Regions from separate parts of the Homo sapiens genome. Here regions 1 and 3 are each linked to region 2. Evidence: promoter capture Hi-C in 16 types of primary human blood cells and fetal thymus (Javierre and others, 2016). All regions are on one chromosome and are shown on one strand. Each heading gives the region's core, a stretch centred on a gene start or on the middle of the fragment in contact. The rest is flanking DNA. Distances are from core to core; before and after follow the strand shown.

Region 1 (3,545 bases), core at 866-3,365, 6.1 Mb before region 2:
TAATGTTTATTGAACCAGTTTTGAGAGCTTGGTATGCTCTTTTCCCTTGGATTGGACTTGAAATTTGGTCAGGAAGAGGTAGGACAAATGGGCAGGCAGGAAGCAGACAGATAGGAGAAAGAAAAGTTCCAATTTTGCACCTCGATTCAGACATTTCCTGCTTTTATTCTTGCTTTTGTAATTACTAGAAGGAATACTTAATATTATTTTAAGTAATTTTTAGTCCTTTATCTCCTAGAGACCTACAAACATTAGATGTTTTCTGTGAGACTATCCTGTGAGAATAGAGAAGAGGTTCTAAATGCTATTCATCTCTGTGAAATTTATTTGCTTTCAATCAGTAAGAAAAGTTAAGGATTTTAATTTAAAAAGGAAAAAGCACAACGAGAAAAGTGAAAATGATTCCCTCTGATCGCTAATGTCAACTATGGTCACATTTAATAATTCTTTTTCTGCACATTGAGTTCATTTTTCCTGCCTCTTCCTTTGAGTGCAAATTTTTTTCAGATGACATTATCCTAATTTGATACTAGCAACGTTAGCTAAAAACAATAATTGGATTTTTTAGGTAACAACTTCAATATGAACTAGCTTTGCCTTACTTCAGTTATATTCTTAGTACATTATATATGTTTTCCTTTTAACTACATTTCATTCTTATGTCTTCCTACCATGTAAAGGAAGCAGTATATTTTATGTAATCTAAATGATTAGTTCTAGTAAATATTACCATATTTTCAAAAATAACGATTTCTACATTTCCATCAGCAAGCCTTCTGTAAGGCAATTTTTAAACGTTTTAATTATAGAACATGCATTTTTTTAACCAAAGGACTGTCACAGATTTTAAGTTATAAAGGGATACCTAGCTATCATTTCTTTTATTGAATCTCCATCTTTTATTTGTAATAATTGTCCCTGATATTATGCTTATTTAATTTCATTGCTTTTAGAAAATGGCGGTTTTATTTTAATGATTTTTTTCTATCAAAACACTATTGGATAAAGCCTCCTTCCCAGGTTAATAACTCTTATTAAAAATTGTTTTCATGTGTTTTTTACAAAAGCAACTTAACGCAGAGACTTATGCCAGTATTATAGTCAATGTTAATAATGTCCTGGGAAACTATGAGGAAACGCTAAATGATCAAAGATCACATATTCGGAAATCTCTAGTGTGGAGACGATTCCACTGCCATATATACAGCAGCAACAACAAAACCGCAGACACCCAGTGAATTTTGATCACCTACTGTGTATCAGGTTTTTTTGTTTTCCCTTCAAAAACCACGATTTCATCGTATTCTCACGATAAATCCTCTGAGATAAAATGAAATTCTAGGATTAACCTCGATACCAGTAACACCTCCAACTCGCCAACAAGTTTTAAACCCCTAATTGGCACACTGCCTTGTGTAAGCAGTATTTCAATAAGCTTTGTGTAAGTTAAAAAAAAAAAAGTGGGAGAGCGTTTAGGGGTCCTTTGGTCCCCATAACAACTAAAAGTCTTGGTTCTTTCTAGAAGTACAACAGATGCAGTAACAGGGAACTAACTATTCAGTGCCTCTGACCAGATCCCGCAGCCTTTCCTAGTCTGCTCTCATCTGAGCAGGAGTCCTACTCAAAGGAACCTGGTTTTCTTTCCTTTACTGGATACTACAAGGCACAAATCGGTTACTTCTGTGGGTGTCGGATTACTTGTTTGTAAACTGAGAAACCTGGACAAAGTTTTCTCTAACTTTCCCTGAATCGTCTCTGGAGGTGAGAGGGAGTTCGAGGCTAAATCAGGAAAGATACCCCAACCATCCTCTTGTGGGTGGGGAGGAGCAGATCTGCTGGGTTAAACTTGGTGGTCAACAAACTGAAAGCAGCGACCCGCGGGCTGCGAGCGGAACAGCGGGAACGTTGGATCAGAGACCCAGAATCAGAGCCGCAGTCGAAGCCGCCCCCTTTTCCGGACGCCCCGTCCGCTCCTGGAACCGGGTTCACATCACGCCCTCAGCAACACGTTATGCGTTGGTGAACTACATTTCCCAGAATGCCTTTCAACCTTCTTCCCAGGGCTCCAATGAGCGCCGTGGTGACGCCATCATCCGGCGCGGTGTTTAGACTCCACTGATGTCGTGGCGCTTTAGGGGAAGAAGTTGGTGTTTCGCTGGGCCCTGGTACTGAAGACGCGGTCCGGGTCGCCCCTAGCTGTTTCCTACTCACCCAAAGCCCCGCACCCGCCTTTTCTCTCTCTCCTCTGGCAGGATGAGGCGTGCAGGCCTGGGTAAGAAGAGGGCTGAGGTTCGAAGTTCGGGGCCCTAGAACCGGGAGCGCTGGGGCGCGGGAGGAAATCGAACCTGTCTTATGTTCCTGGCATTTGGTCCAAAAAACAGGATGTCTAGAGGGGATCTTTGGGGTCCATGTCGAGTGGAAACACACCATTTGTCCCAGATCTTTGGAATTTCCTTAAGTTTGAGTCAGATTCAAGTTTGGATGGTAGGCTAGAGAAAGTAGTGGACTAGGGGTGGGTGTGTACAGGTGGCATCTCAGTGGTCGAGTGTTTTAGTGTTATTGACTGAGCGTGGTTATGGACGCTGCTATGTTTTCCAAAGCCCGACTCCGGTTTCTGTTTCCCTACTGGCCCTGGATCTTAGTTTCTTCAGAAGCGGAATTTGAAGAGTGGGTGGTTGCACCCAAAGCACGCTAGTAATGGTCGTTAATCTGGTAACAGTGAGTTACAAAGGTAAATGTATGTGTCATTATTGTTAAAGGTCCTGGAACTGGAACTTCTGGGTCAAAGGCGATTTCTTAATCTGAACCTTGTGCCACGGTTAAGGCAGTAGAACGTGGTTAAGGTTTGGCGACTTAACATTTGATCTTTACCTTTGGGGTTAGGAAACTGGCTCATCAGCAAGAATAAGTTAGACACAAGGAATTTTAATGGACCCTTATAGTAACGCACAGCTACTAGAACGGCATTTTCTGGTTCTGAAGCTTTCTCTTAGGACACGATTTTTTTTTTAAAGAAGACCCCGCTAAATTAGAGTGCAGTATACTTCAGAAAATAAATGAAACATTTGAAAAAAGATATTACCTTTCTCAGTCATTATAAGATTGAAAAAAGAAAAAAAAAATCCCCAAAGTGTCAGATATTTAAAGTCAGTGAAAGTTGCCAATAACCGTAGACTTGTTTATTGATCAATAAATTGTAGTATGAGAAAGTTTTTTGTTTTTTTAATGAAGTTTTTATGAATACTTAGATCATAGAAAATGGGGCCAGGTAAATTGAAGAGAAAAAAAAAAGAAATAATTTTGAGCAAGTTTAGCTTTATATGTCTAAATGTTTTTCTTGTTCATCATCCTTAATACCAAAAAAGATTTATTGTGTGCTTGAGTAAGCTCTAGGTATACAGTTGTTTGTTGCCCTGTTTGTGATCCCCAAAGCTTCCAGTCTAGGTGGGGAGTAGGAATATGTGCAAAGATAAATTGTAGTACAAAGTGTCGCTATACATCCAAATACCAGATAAGTTCTACATATAAGGGATGGTCTCAGAGAT
Region 2 (3,467 bases), core at 160-2,659:
TTTTAGGATGTAAACTCCATGGGGATATTTAATACTCAACTATTTATTGAGCATCTGCCATTCTGCTGAACATTCAAAACTGGTGTTTAAACTTCATTTAGCGATGAAAGAATCCTCTGTTACGCAGAATAACCTAGTCCTCAAGGGTTTCAGACTGCTCAAGTTTTAGTTTCATATAAAGTTTGTCTGCATATTAACAACTAAACGGTCCATTTCACATACAATTTGTCTACGTATTAAGAACTTAACGGTCCATTACGAAGAACTAAACCTTTCATTATTTTCATTAGAAACAGATCTGAGATCCAAGCAACTGCTTTAAAAATTAATTTTTCAAACGCAATCTGTTCTTAAATTGGTAGTTACTACACACACACAAACACCTGTACAAAAAACTTAGGTGCTGGAATGTTTCACCAAATAAAGTGACTGAAAATGGAAATTTGCTTTTGTTTCCCTGTTTGTAATGTTGAAACCAGCAATGGGGTGTTTGAAATACAATGCTTTCCCCCAACTTATGAGGAAAGGAAAATAAACTTTCAAGGGTAAGACCAAAAATCCACCCACAATCACTCAATCTAATCCTGAAGCGAAAAGCCACGAGCGCGTCTGACTTTAAATTGAGGATGCAGTCCGTCGCCTCCAAGGGCCCGGGCGGAGGCTTAGCATATGCGAGAGCCCGGGAGCAGACAGCGCCGCAGTCCCGGCGAGGTCCCGGATCTGCACATTGTTTGCTAGTTTTCAACCGAAGGCACGACCGGGAATCAATCTGGGACCGCCGCTGTAAACGGCAGAGCGCTCGAGGGGCCGGGTCAGGATCCGTTCCTTCTTAGGCAAAACACTGAACGGGGGCTCCTTCCTTCAGACCCCAGAGGCCGGTCAGAAGAAAAGAAGCTGAGGACCCGGCGGGAGAAGTCTGAAGAATCAATGGTGGAACCACGAGGGGAGGAAAGGATTAAAGGGACTGCAGGCGGAGGAGGGGCTTCTTACCCTGGAAATGTCCTTTACTGTGGATCCTCATGGCTCCGGAGTTCATGGCAGTCGCCCGGCACCTACATGCTGGGTCCGGAGAAAGTGTCGCACCGGGCAGCCGCGAAAGCACGGCTTCCCCCGGCCTGTTGACAGGACGGCCGCCTCTCTCCTTCCGCCAGCTACGGCCTCTACGCAGTAGAGGTACCGCGTCTGCAGGTCGGGTTTCCGGGGCCGGATCCGGCTCCAAGGCGCGGAGGAGGAAGGCGCAAAGCACAAACGAGTGGGCTGCGGCGGTTGAAGATTTGAAAACGCGTCACGCGGCCGCGGCGCCGATACGCGCGCCCCGCCCCGTCTCACGCCACGCGCCGTGCCCCGCCTCGCGCTCGCCCCTCGTGCCTGCCTTCTCGCGCTGCGCGCCCCGCCCCCTCACGCCGCCGTCCTTCTCGCGCCTCGCTCTGGCCCTGCAGGTTGTGTTTCCGCCTCTACCCCGCCTCCATTCCGTTGCTCTCTCAGTCTCAGACCCGGGCTCTCGGTCCGCCGCTTCAGGTCTTGGCGCAGCCTCAGAGAGTTGGCGCGGCTCTGTGTTGACCAAACCTAGTGGATGCAGTTAGCGCCGGAGCCCGGCCCCGCCCGTCACCAGGGTTATTCCCGCCTTCTAGGTTTGCCAGGACTGCCGGCCCTGCAGCTGCCTTCTGCCCCAGGTATGCTAATTTTCCACTGGTCGGACGTCTGGGAAGCTGAAGGCGAGGGGCTTTGGCTGAGTCCGGACTCAGCTCTGGCCGGGCCCGGGGCCGGGGCCGGAACCGGAGCCGGACAGCGGCGGCAGCCGCAGCCCCTGCTCAGCGCGCCCTGGGTCGCACAGCAAGCGGGGTTTTCCCGCGGTCACTGCCGACCCCACCGGCTGAGGACAGCTGCAGAGGGACGTGCGGGAGTGAGGGCGGCCCCGGGGGGCGTCTGAGGGAGGGTCTGGCCAGGCGGCCCCGGCCTTGACGGCAGCGCCACCGCAGAACGCCTCCAGGTCACTTTGTGTCCTTGGGTAGTTGGCTATTTGCGCTGTCCTGTTGACTTTTATTGTATTCAGACCTGTTTTCTTTTAGTTGAGTGTAAGTTTATTTCAACAATGAAGGAGTGGAAAGTAACATCTCATTTTTTTTTCCTGTAAAACAGAGATTAAAGATCAAATTAAAATGCTTGTGAATATATTTTAATTTTATAAGTTGGAACATGCCTCTCCAAAAAAAAAAAAAAATCTGTTTCTTCAGGAGGAAGAGGATATTTTGAACTATTTTGCATTCCTCTACTCCAGGCCATAATAGGCACTCCTGTAGTGGTTGATTTTTTTACCTGGTAGCTCAAGGAAGTCAGAGTATCAGCGTTACGGTTTTGCAGGTAGGTACCTTAAAGAATAGACAAGGGTGGGTTGTGACAAGATTAGCTGGAGAACGCAGAGAACAGGTTTGCTAAGGGAAATGAGAGTTTGGTTTTAGACAGGTTTATGTTGAAGGGCCTGGGGCGACAGTCATGGAACTATGCTTATTAGACAGTTAAAGATGTTTATGACTCGAGAGAAATGTCTAGCAGAAGTGGACATGGGAAGAGGAAATAGAGATTGATTTGATATCTCTCCAATAAAATATTTCTGCATCAAGGTCTATTGATGTCAATCATGGGGCAATTCATTAGAGGTTAACAGATCTTGAGTGGTGGAAGGAAGTGTAGTTTGAACAAACATATTCAATATTGTAATTTCTATGGGAAAAAACTTATTTTCAAAATATAAGCTACAGAGAGCACAAAATGTTTATATTTACAGAAAGATTTAAAAAGTTGGGAAGCACTAATATAGAATGTAGTTAAAGCTTTGGGAGGAAATGAAATTGCCAAGGAGAGCATGTGAAATAAGAGAATTGATTATAAGCGTCGTTGATGAAATAGTGAAAGAGATGGAGAAAATGCCACAGAATTGGGAAGAGACTGCAAACATTGGAATCATATGGGCTTCACTAACTACTTGGCCTCTGGGTAATTTTGAGCCCCAATTTTAATCTATTAAAAGGGGGTAGTACTTCTCAGGGATGTTGTGAAGATTAAATGAACATTTTTGAATGCTTAGTACAGTGCCTGGCACAGAGTAGAGCTCCTTAAGAGCTCCATAATTACTATCATTCTAGTGAACACTGCACCAGTTCCTTCATCCCCAGGACAGATAAGGTTAAGACTTGAAAAATAAGTATTTGATTTTGGCGTTTCAGGTATCCTTGGTTTCCTTAAGGGTAATTTGAGTAGGTGGCAGAGATAAGTACAGTACTAGATAAAAATTATAATCTTGAAGTTCAGACAGGTTGAGTGTACTCTTTCAAAAAAATTTGTTATTGTAGGAAAGTATAATGAAGGGAAGACTGGATCTTTGGAAGGTTTAGAGGATGTGGGAAAGATTTTTAAGCATGCTTCTATTGAGGAACTTTTTTTTAAAAAAGGAAGTCCCATTTTATGGT
Region 3 (3,528 bases), core at 202-2,701, 5.4 Mb before region 2:
ATTTTAAAGATGTGGAAATAGATGCTTAAAAACGTTATGTAACTTGCCGAAAGTCACACAGCTGCCACAGGATACAGCAGGACCCAAACTCATCGTCAAGTAAGAAGTAGTAGGACGCACAACACCAGTACTCAACACATGTGAGGAATTAACAAATGTTACTAGCCACTTACTTAAATATTTTTATTATTCACAGAACATTTTGATTATATTTTCATAACATTAACAAAATGCTCTGACATAACTAAAATAATCATGTAAGGGTCATTTGTGCATTGTGCAAGAGAAATACACAATTTGTATCCTGTTTATATATCTCTCAAATTGTGAATTCTCAAATAAGAATGTGGAATTTGAGTTATTTTTGTAATCAACAAGAAAAAAACTCACAAATATACCTTTCACTAAACGATTACCTTCCACATTCTCCAAACTTCTAAAAGCCATGTTGATTTAAAACTCTAATCTTAACTATCTTTCATATTAAAATAATAAAATGACCAATTCTAGTGAAATATTAAAGCTGAAGTAAATAAAGGCAGCTAAAACAAAGTCATAATCAATAAGTACATAAAAGAAAATTTCTGCACTTCTTAAATGAAGCTGAGGCATTATTACGAGGTCCCTAACATTTATGAGACAGGTTACAAAATAGCCAAAGCTCTTATTCATGAATTTCCATTCTGGGGAAAAAAAAGAAAAGATCAGTATTTTGCCATGACAAAAATAAATTTTTTAAAGCAGAATTTCACAAAGAGTTTTCACATATATTAGCTTATCGATGACCCTCATAACAGAACTGTGAAGTAAAATGAACAAAAATAATTATTTTCACATCCAGAAACGTAAGCTACAAAGTTTGGGGACTTGCCCAAAATCCAAAAGCTACTAATTCTGTCTTCAAATCATCCGTTTTCAGTCTTTCCAGGTCACCTCTACTGCACAGACCACACCACCCTACCCAGGCTATCAGCTCGCATATGACAGACAGCCTGGATGCGGAAGACCTTGCAAGGAAGCTCGGGCTGTTCTGGAAAGACGGCAAAAAGAGGAGGAGGGGAGACAAAGATACCCTGATTCCTTCAATGACTTATTTTTAAACGAATATTTCTGGGAGGCTGGTACCCGCTGGAGCAGTGCTCCAACCCAGGCGGCCCAGGTGAGTTTTCTAGGGTATGCCCCGGCTTCCCAGTCCCCCTGACACCTGCCACCACCCATAACTTAGATCCCCGCCCGCCACTGGTTGGGGACAGAACATCTCGGCTCCTCTCACTTCCGAGATGAAGGAAGCCTTTGCTTCAGCCGCCGCGACTTACCTGTCGGGTCATGAGAGATTTGATTTTTTGCATATCGAAATCCTGAGGAGGGTACCCTGCCTCAAAGAGCTAACAAATCACACCGAGCCACTACACAGCTGGCCCTGACACTAGGAAGCCATAGTGGGTGGTCACGTGGAGGAGCCGACCCAGGGTATCCTGTCTTTCCCTGGGCCTGCTGGGAACTGTAGTCTTCTGGACGCCGGCGGTAGCAACGATGAACTAAAGTGGCCAACCCAGGGACTACATCTCCCAGCAAGCAAAAGAGCGGGTGCTTCAGTTAAGCCGGTAAATATTACTGCTCAGAGCGACCACTGCGATCGCCGGTCTTACAAAGGTGCTTGCACTAGGCAGTAGCTACTCTTCGGCGAGACGGAAACCTAAGTCACAGGTGACTAGGCGTTGAGCGAAAGATCAAACTCAGAGGAGACAATATATAAGCCAGATTGACGCGATGTCCCCTAGGAGTGTGAGGGAGGAAACCTCACCTGGTCTAGAGGGGCGGGGTGGGAGAACGAGAGACTGACGCGAAGGAGAAGGAACTCAAGAAAGGGCTGTCACTGAGGGGTAACCTGAGAACTCGAGACTACCCCGGGCGCGCTGGGTTTGGCCTGAGGAAAGGTGTGCTCTAGGTTGCCCAATAGGCGGCCCTCCAGGTTTAGGGCTGTTCTACCTCAGTCTTGGTATCCCCTGCAAAAGCTCTAAAATCGAAGGATTTTGACGCCCGCCTATTATTTTACCTCCGTACTCTAAAGCAGTGATGACGGGAAATACGACAATAACGAGTATACCTGTCACTTTAAAGTCCTCTTTTCAACTTTTGGCAGTTTAGTTAAATTGGGGAAAGGAACAGAAGTGTCTTTGGGGACACAATTTTAAAAGGACTTTACAATTATGAGAATATGAGAAGAAGAAGAAAAAGCAGCCCTAAAGCTAACAATGATAGCTAACACTTATCGAAAGCCGAGTACCTGTCAGGAACTGCTAATAGCTTTAAATATATGATTTCATTTATCCACACAAGAATCCTGTGGGTTCCCATTTTAAAGATGACGAAGCAGGTATGGCGAAATTAAGGAACTTGCCTAAGATTACTGCAGATGTGCAAGTAGAAACTGAAGGATTAATCGGTCATCAGATGTGTTAAGATTTTCATGTATTGTGCTGAAGAAAGTTCTAAAGCATGGCACCAATTTTTTTAAGTTTATTTTATTATAATGTTAACTTCTAAAAGTATGACACAGACCCATAATTTCAAAAATATTTCTTAGAATAAAAAAAGTTCAAGTGTGTCAACGTAATAAAAAATACTAGGTAAACAATAGTATGGGTGGTAGTCAGATATGGCAAAACTAATAAAGGTGATTTGCAAATGACTGAAGTTTGGGGGACACTAACAGAGGTTATTTCTGATTCTGAAATTCTATTTTCTCACCCCTTAGAGCCTCGTTTTATTAATTTTTACAAATGAGGTTGTAATATTTTAATATTTTATATAGGGCTTTGTAAGGATAAGTGAGATGATGTAGGTGAATGAAATGTATAAATTGTAAAGCACTATACAATTATGAGGTATTATTGGTTTTGATTCTGCCCAGTTCTCTACTCCAACAGAACCACCTTGTGCATACTTGTATCATCACTGCGTTCAGCAATTCCTTTGAAATTATATGTTTACCTATATGCTTCTCTGACTCTGTTATTTCTAACCCCTTCAAGAAATTCTGGTCACATTTAGGGCAAGTCTAGTTTAGTTTATTCTTTACCTTCTCTAATCTTAATTGTCAGACTGTTCTTTGTGTGTGAAAATCTGCAATATTTAGAAGTCCCTGAAAGCATCAAAAGAAACAAAAACTGCCAGCCATATTAGCCTATAAAATAAAACCCAAGTCAATAAACATTTCTTGATTGTTGCGCTCAAGGCAACACTAAAATAAGCACTTTGATTAATAATCTATGGTTGTGGTCACAAGGAGTTCACAACTGGGTTTAAAAGCATATCTTAGGGGTGATCTGAGTTCAGTAGATCTCAAACCTGACTGTTCAGATTCACCTGAGGTGTGTGCTGTTATTATTGTTGTTTTCTTTGGGGATGTTTGTTTGTTTAAAATCTTCAGTGATTCTTAAAGGCAGTCCAGCTCTAGCATGTCAAATCCATGCTGTAAAGATGAGAAAACGTATCTGTATAAGGGTTCGAGACCACATATTTCAT

The links. Contacts are between HindIII fragments. The CHiCAGO score rates a contact against its expected background, and 5 or more counts as called.
Region 1: the fragment with the promoter of BET1 here is called in contact with the fragment with the promoter of SLC25A40 in region 2 in 1 of 17 cell types (total CD8 T cells); the score reaches 8.8 in total CD8 T cells.
Region 3: the fragment with the promoter of VPS50 here is called in contact with the fragment with the promoter of SLC25A40 in region 2 in 1 of 17 cell types (naive CD8 T cells); the score reaches 6.1 in naive CD8 T cells.

The regions. Positions count from the first base shown.
Region 1 is chr7:94,002,925-94,006,469 of GRCh38, reverse strand. BET1 (Bet1 golgi vesicular membrane trafficking protein) reads left to right here and starts at 2,115. Exons shown (of 4, transcript NM_005868.6): 1 at 2,115-2,272. The coding sequence starts at 2,254. RefSeq lists enhancers at 1,549-2,178, 2,189-2,238, 1,693-2,298, 2,299-2,905. The HindIII fragment of the contact is 1,547 bases long and covers 1,438-2,984 here.
Region 2 is chr7:87,874,302-87,877,768 of GRCh38, reverse strand. SLC25A40 (solute carrier family 25 member 40) reads left to right here and starts at 1,409. Exons shown (of 12, transcript NM_018843.4): 1 at 1,409-1,673. It overlaps DBF4 (DBF4-CDC7 kinase regulatory subunit), which reads right to left and starts at 1,276. Exons shown (of 12, transcript NM_006716.4): 1 at 991-1,276. The coding sequence starts at 1,036. RefSeq lists enhancers at 997-1,116, 1,304-1,813 and silencers at 1,177-1,436, 1,567-2,016. The HindIII fragment of the contact is 3,397 bases long and covers 1-2,833 here.
Region 3 is chr7:93,230,289-93,233,816 of GRCh38, reverse strand. It overlaps VPS50 (VPS50 subunit of EARP/GARPII complex), which reads right to left and starts at 1,451. Exons shown (of 28, transcript NM_017667.4): 1 at 1,317-1,451. The coding sequence starts at 1,349. It also overlaps a transcript of HEPACAM2 not described here. RefSeq lists enhancers at 931-990, 1,231-1,280, 1,371-1,540, 1,681-1,750. The HindIII fragment of the contact is 4,774 bases long and covers 1-3,528 here.